Regions from separate parts of the Homo sapiens genome. Here region 1 is linked to region 2. The links are contacts of gene promoters, found by promoter capture Hi-C in human tissues and cell types (Jung and others, 2019). All regions are on one chromosome and are shown on one strand. The core of a region is centred on a gene start or on the middle of the fragment in contact, and the rest is flanking DNA. Distances in the headings are between cores, read along the strand shown. Region 1 overlaps TRIM44 (tripartite motif containing 44). Region 2 holds the start of LDLRAD3 (low density lipoprotein receptor class A domain containing 3).

What was found. Contacts are between HindIII fragments. The study calls those that stand out against the background at their distance.
Region 1: a contact is called between a fragment that was not itself captured here and the fragment with the promoter of LDLRAD3 in region 2, in 1 of the 25 tissues and cell types used here (mesendoderm cells).

What each region holds. Positions count from the first base shown.
Region 1 is chr11:35,800,285-35,803,024 of GRCh38, reverse strand. The region is part of intron 4 of TRIM44 (tripartite motif containing 44); the gene reads right to left. Among named protein-coding and RNA genes, the nearest start is that of TRIM44, 140 kb to the right of the region's middle. The HindIII fragment of the contact is 4,427 bases long and covers 1-2,740 here.
Region 2 is chr11:35,942,691-35,945,390 of GRCh38, reverse strand. It overlaps LDLRAD3 (low density lipoprotein receptor class A domain containing 3), which reads right to left and starts at 1,329. Exons shown (of 6, transcript NM_174902.4): 1 at 1,247-1,329. The coding sequence starts at 1,292. RefSeq lists a silencer at 979-1,418. The HindIII fragment of the contact is 6,577 bases long and covers 1-2,700 here.

The sequences.
Region 1 (2,740 bases), core at 134-2,633, 140 kb after region 2:
AATGTTACCCTTCTTCCTCAACCCACCTTCCTTCTTATCCTGAATAAAAACCTGCCTCCTCCTGCCTTTCCCTCAAATGTTCCTAGCTCTGGCAGCTGAAACATTACATTCCAGAACAAGTGTGTTCCTATCCCCAAATACCCTTCAAATATCTGGAGAGCAACAGTATCCTGCTTTGCTCACTTGGAGAGTTTTTTAAATGACAACCCAGACCTAATGAAATACAGGTACTAACTAGAAAGGCTGAGTATCACTCTGACCCTTCTAGGTGGCAGGTCTCAAGAAAAGTCATGCCTGCCAAACACTGGGGAGAACAAATACGGAGTGAAGTTTAGTTAACCGGCCTTAGCTCGGTCACTGATCTAGTTTGAGGGTACTGCTGTATCTAAAAGTGGTGGCCTTAAAACTGGGGTATGGATACCCTTGTGGTATGTAATTACTTTCCAGGAAGTATTTGGGCCTGGGTAGTTTTAAGAAAATTAATGTCCAAATCCTTAACTTCCATATATACTGCTTCCTAAAACTTACCTTCTCAGAAACATGCCTGTGCTCTGTAAGGTTCTTGTTTCAGCCACTCCCACTTTACAGATCACCATACTCCCACACTTCCGCAGAAATGCTACTCTCACTCACCCTTCTGAATCTTAGCATGTAACAATTTTAGAATGTCTCCCTTAGAGGAGTCCTATGAGAGAACCGCAAGCAATAGTAAAGGAGACAATCTCTTTTTTCATTCAGGCAGGAAACTCTTGGCAAGGCTGTGTGTTTTATCTATCTATCCATCGATCTAACACTTCAAATTCAAAAGTGAGGTGGTTATCATGAGGTGTGTGCTAATGTTTATTTGTATTGAAAAAAATGAAATCAGACTTAATCTGACAGAAAGCAAGTCTGATTTGGCTGGATGGTTTGACCACCAAAATTGGCTTTGCCAATTAGATTATATAGTGCACCTTTGCTTGTAAATTTAATAAGCTAAATTCACAGTGCCAAAGTTTTGACAAAAATATATATAAAAACTCATATAAACTACACAATATGTCAGTGAGCACACCCTTAGCAACGATTTACACTTGATACTATGATTTCAGGAATTAATTTAAAAACGGGCAAAAAGGCACATACTTTTAAAATTTCTTTTAGGGGATGTAAAACAAAAAAGTTTAGCTAAAGGAACTGGGAGCTCCTAAATTCTGACCAGGAGGATGGTGTGAAATTTAACACTTTCTTGGTTGTGGGTAGGGGATGGGGTGACAGAATGAGACTAAGGCATTCCAGTAAGCAGAATGCTGTATCCCTTCTCTGAGTTGGGCTTACTGTCTGATGTGGTGCCTGTGAAACTGAAATGTCAGAGGCATGCCATAAGCTCCACATTCAGACCCTAAACACCTGCTGATAAAATGATTATATTTTATCATAATCATTTTACAGTGTTTCACTGTGACCATTTTTTAGTTAGGCTGCATATATAGGCAGCTTAGCTTTTTGGCTTCTGTCCCCAGAGCTTTAGGGGCATAAAGGGGAAGTTAATAAATCAGGTAGCAGGCATTCTGACTTTGCAAGTTTAATAGTTTCTTTTCCTAAGCATATAGTACAACTTAATGTGACTTGGCATCACTCATGTCTTCTGAGTTCTTGGTTATCTATTAATTGATTATTGCTGTAAAAGGATTATTTAACTCAGGAGGATGGTGGAATTAAGAGGTATTGACAAGGAACGAAGGCTAGAGTCAGCTGAAATTCAAAAAGATAGATTTAATATTCTCCAAAAATTACACTGCCTGGGCATTGTACAAGGAGCCAATTGGGAAGTCTCACACTTTCAGTATCTGAGGAAGTGGTTGCCTAGTTGCAGTAAATATGCGATCAGCACTGCTGGGGAGACAGACTAAACACTCGGATCCAGGGACCTTTCTTTACTAGACAGAGCGAGTTGCCTTCTTTGTCCCCTCTGTCCCACACTCACCTGCCCCAACAGCCTGAGCTGAAAATAAGGAGGTTACTGTGCTTTAAGGGATCTGAACTTTACAAAATAAAGTAAAATGTCCTTGGTCTATTTTGGGCTAACTGAGAAAAACATGATGAAAATACCAGAGTTCTAGTCCTGGTTCTGCTGTGTGACTCTAGGACCCAGTATCCTTATCTGGGAAATTAGGATGCCTTGCATTTTAAGCAAAGTTTAGGAAAACTCCAAACCAGACAAAAACTAAGAAAGCTTCCCTCCAACATATAGACTTGCTGAGCTAATTAATTTGCTCTCATTCATACAGCTGTCTCTCTTTGCTTCCTGTGCCCCTCTCTATCCCATCACCACAATCTGAAGGATGGCCTAAATGTTCCAAGTCCTTTCACCTCTTTCTGGCTGGGCCCAAATACTGGGTTGATGCCCGGTACTGAGAGGTGAAGCCAGCTGGACCTCCTGGGTCGAGTGGGAAGTTGGAGAACTTTTCTGTGTCTAGCTAAAGGATTGTAAATGCACCAATCAGCATTCTGTAAAAACGCACCAATCAGTGCTCTGTGTCTAGCTAAAGGATTGTAAACACACCAATCAGCACTCTGTAAAAATGCACGAATCAGTGCTCTGTGTCTAGCTAAAGGACTGTAAGCACAACAATCAGCAGGATGTGGGTGGGGCCAAATAAGGGAATAAAAGCTGGCCACCTGAGCCAGCAGCAGCAACCCACTCGGGTCCCCTTCCACAGCATGGAAGCTTTGTTCTTTCGCTCTTCATAATAAATCT
Region 2 (2,700 bases), core at 80-2,579:
GTCATGGGTCTGAGAGCAGGAAAGGCTGCCCAGTGGGCTGTGAGGATGCCCAGGACCAGGGACATCAAGGAAGAGAGGAGATATCCCTTTAACGCATTCATAACTCCAAGGCACAGCTAAGAATGAAGTGAGCCTCAACTTAGCAAACCCACAGGCCACCAAAGACACCTCGACAGCCAAGCTGCTAGAAGCACTTGGCAAAATAGGGCAGCTATTGGACATGTGGATGGCACAAACACCAGGCAGGCAAGATTCTGCTGAAGAAAGTTCACTGGGCCCTGTCACCCACATTCTAGGCATCAGATGCCCAGAAATAAACGTCAAGGGGCCAAGGGCGGGCCCAGTCCAGGAGGGACAGCTGACAGCTGTGGGCGGCGGGCAGGGGCAGAGGAGGAAGGGCTCCCAGGCTGGAATTCGGATCATGCCCACATCAGCAGAAAAGTTCCTGGGAACAGCACGCTGTCTGGAAGGGAAAGAGGCTTGCTGCGGTCCAGGCCCCGGGATGCACACGCGGTGGTGATGCCAGGTTCAAAGGGCCGCCGGATGAAGCCCCGTGTCCTCTCCCAGGGCCCCTCGCCGGTCAGGGCGCCCATCGCGGGGCAAGTAGGGTGGTCAGACGTCTTAAATAAAGCTTCGGTTCCCAGGATCAGTGGGGAAAAATGAATTCCCAGATCCGGCCTTGCTTCAACTCACTTTACCCAAACCAAACAGTCCCAGAGAGGAATGAAAGGAAGCAGCTTTGCTACTCCCTCCGCGGTGCAGGTGGGGAAACTGAGGCACGGAGTGCACGCCAGAGACTCGGGAAGAGGCCCAGAGGAGGCTAACGCAGCCGCGCGCGACCAGGCGTCTGGGAAGATGAGACCAGGGAAGAGTTCTCTCCTCTCCTCTCCTTTCCTTTCCCCGCCTCCGTTCCTCAACACACACAACACACACACAGCCACACTCGAGCTACGCCCAATCGGGGCAGCCGCCGGGCTCCCCAGACCCGGACTGCACACAGAGCCCCGCCCGCGCACACAGCACAACACGACCCGGCGCGCACGCCCACACAATAGGACGGCTCGCACCCCGCGGCGGCCCCTCGGCAGGGTCCGGGCCAGCCCGGCGCCGGGGTCCGCCCTCCGCGCTCACCCACGCCCGGAGAGCGGCCCGCGCCCGGGAGAGGACGCGATCGCACCCGGCCGCTGCGCCCCGCGCCCCGCGCCCCGCGCCCCGCGGGAAGTTCGCCGGCCGCCCCCCGACTCACCCGCGGCGCTGCTCAGCAGCAGGCACAGCGGCCCCAGCAGCCACATGGCGCGGCCGCCGCTCCCGCTGCCCGGCGTCGTTGCTGCCCCCGCGGCCTCGGCGCTGACCCCGCCCCTCGCCGCGCCGTCCCCGCCCTCCCGCCTGGCCCTCCTCCCTCCCGCCTTCCCCGGGCCCGGCCCCGGCCCGGCTCCGCTAAGTTTTGCAAGCGCCTGGGCTGCGCGTGGCCACCCGCATGTTACCCTGGGTGTCCTGACTCCGAGGGGCCGCCGAGCGCGGCGGAGGGTTCAGCCTTTCGGTCTCTCAGCCTTTCAGCCTCCCAGGTCTGGCCGCGAGGATCTTCTAACAGCCTGGGCTCTGTTCTCTGCTTCCTTTTGTCCCTCTCATTTCTGCCTTTGCTTCCACACCCAGCGAGATGCAGCGCCCAGACCAAAACTTGAGTTCTTTACTCAAACTACAAAGTGAGTTTACTACCGAGAGAGAAAAAGTTAAAATAAAGGGTCAAATCTTATGAGAAAATTGTAGTATATTTTTAGTAGCGAGTGTGGAATACCAGTGCTTCTCAAACTTTAATATGCATCCGGCACACTTGACGATCTTGTTAAAATACTGACTCTGGTTCAGTAGATCTGGCGTGGAGCCTGAGATTCTGCATTTTTAACAACATGGTGGCTGATTCCAAGGCTGATGATCCGGGAGCCACCGGTAAGAGCAGCTGACACCTACCATGCACACAGCGTGGACCACATGAGTTATTTTGTCTGCATAGTGTCCACCTTGACCTGTTGAACGTTTGGGACCCAATTTGGAAAAAATAAAATTAAAAAAAGGAAAAGGTCATGAAAGGCAGATACCCAAATGCAAAAAATATAGCTGCACCAATGCACTTGCTTCCAGAGGGCACTGGTGAAAAGCCCCAAAAGACTTAGATGGTGGAAGAAGGGGATGACACTTCTGTGCTCCACTCTCTCTGATCCCCCACCCAAAAAAAGCAAAAGACTAACGCAAATAATTGCCAAAAACTGGAAACAACTCAAGTGTCCATCAATTGATAAATGGATCAATAAATTAAAACTTTTGGGGGCAGTGGGACTGTTCTAATCTTGATTATAGAGGTAGTTACACAACTGTATACATTTGTCAAAACAATAGAACTGCATCCCTAAAATCCACCCCTCAAAAGGGTTGAGTTTATTTACACAAACTCCACCTGGCTGAAAGAAAGGGGAAGGTATGGGTACAGGGGCAGTTATAAAAGGGATGCCTGCGTCAGATTTTGGGATGCCCTGGAGACACCCTCAAGGGTGTTAAGATTCAATTACTTTACTCTGTAATTGCGTGCTGTAGTCTGGAAACATAAAGGCTAAAAAGGATCAGGTCAAAATTTAAAAATACCAATGATTGTTCAAGGTAATGAGAAAATGTGATGTGAGGGAGGAAAGGTTAAGTTCCATAGTT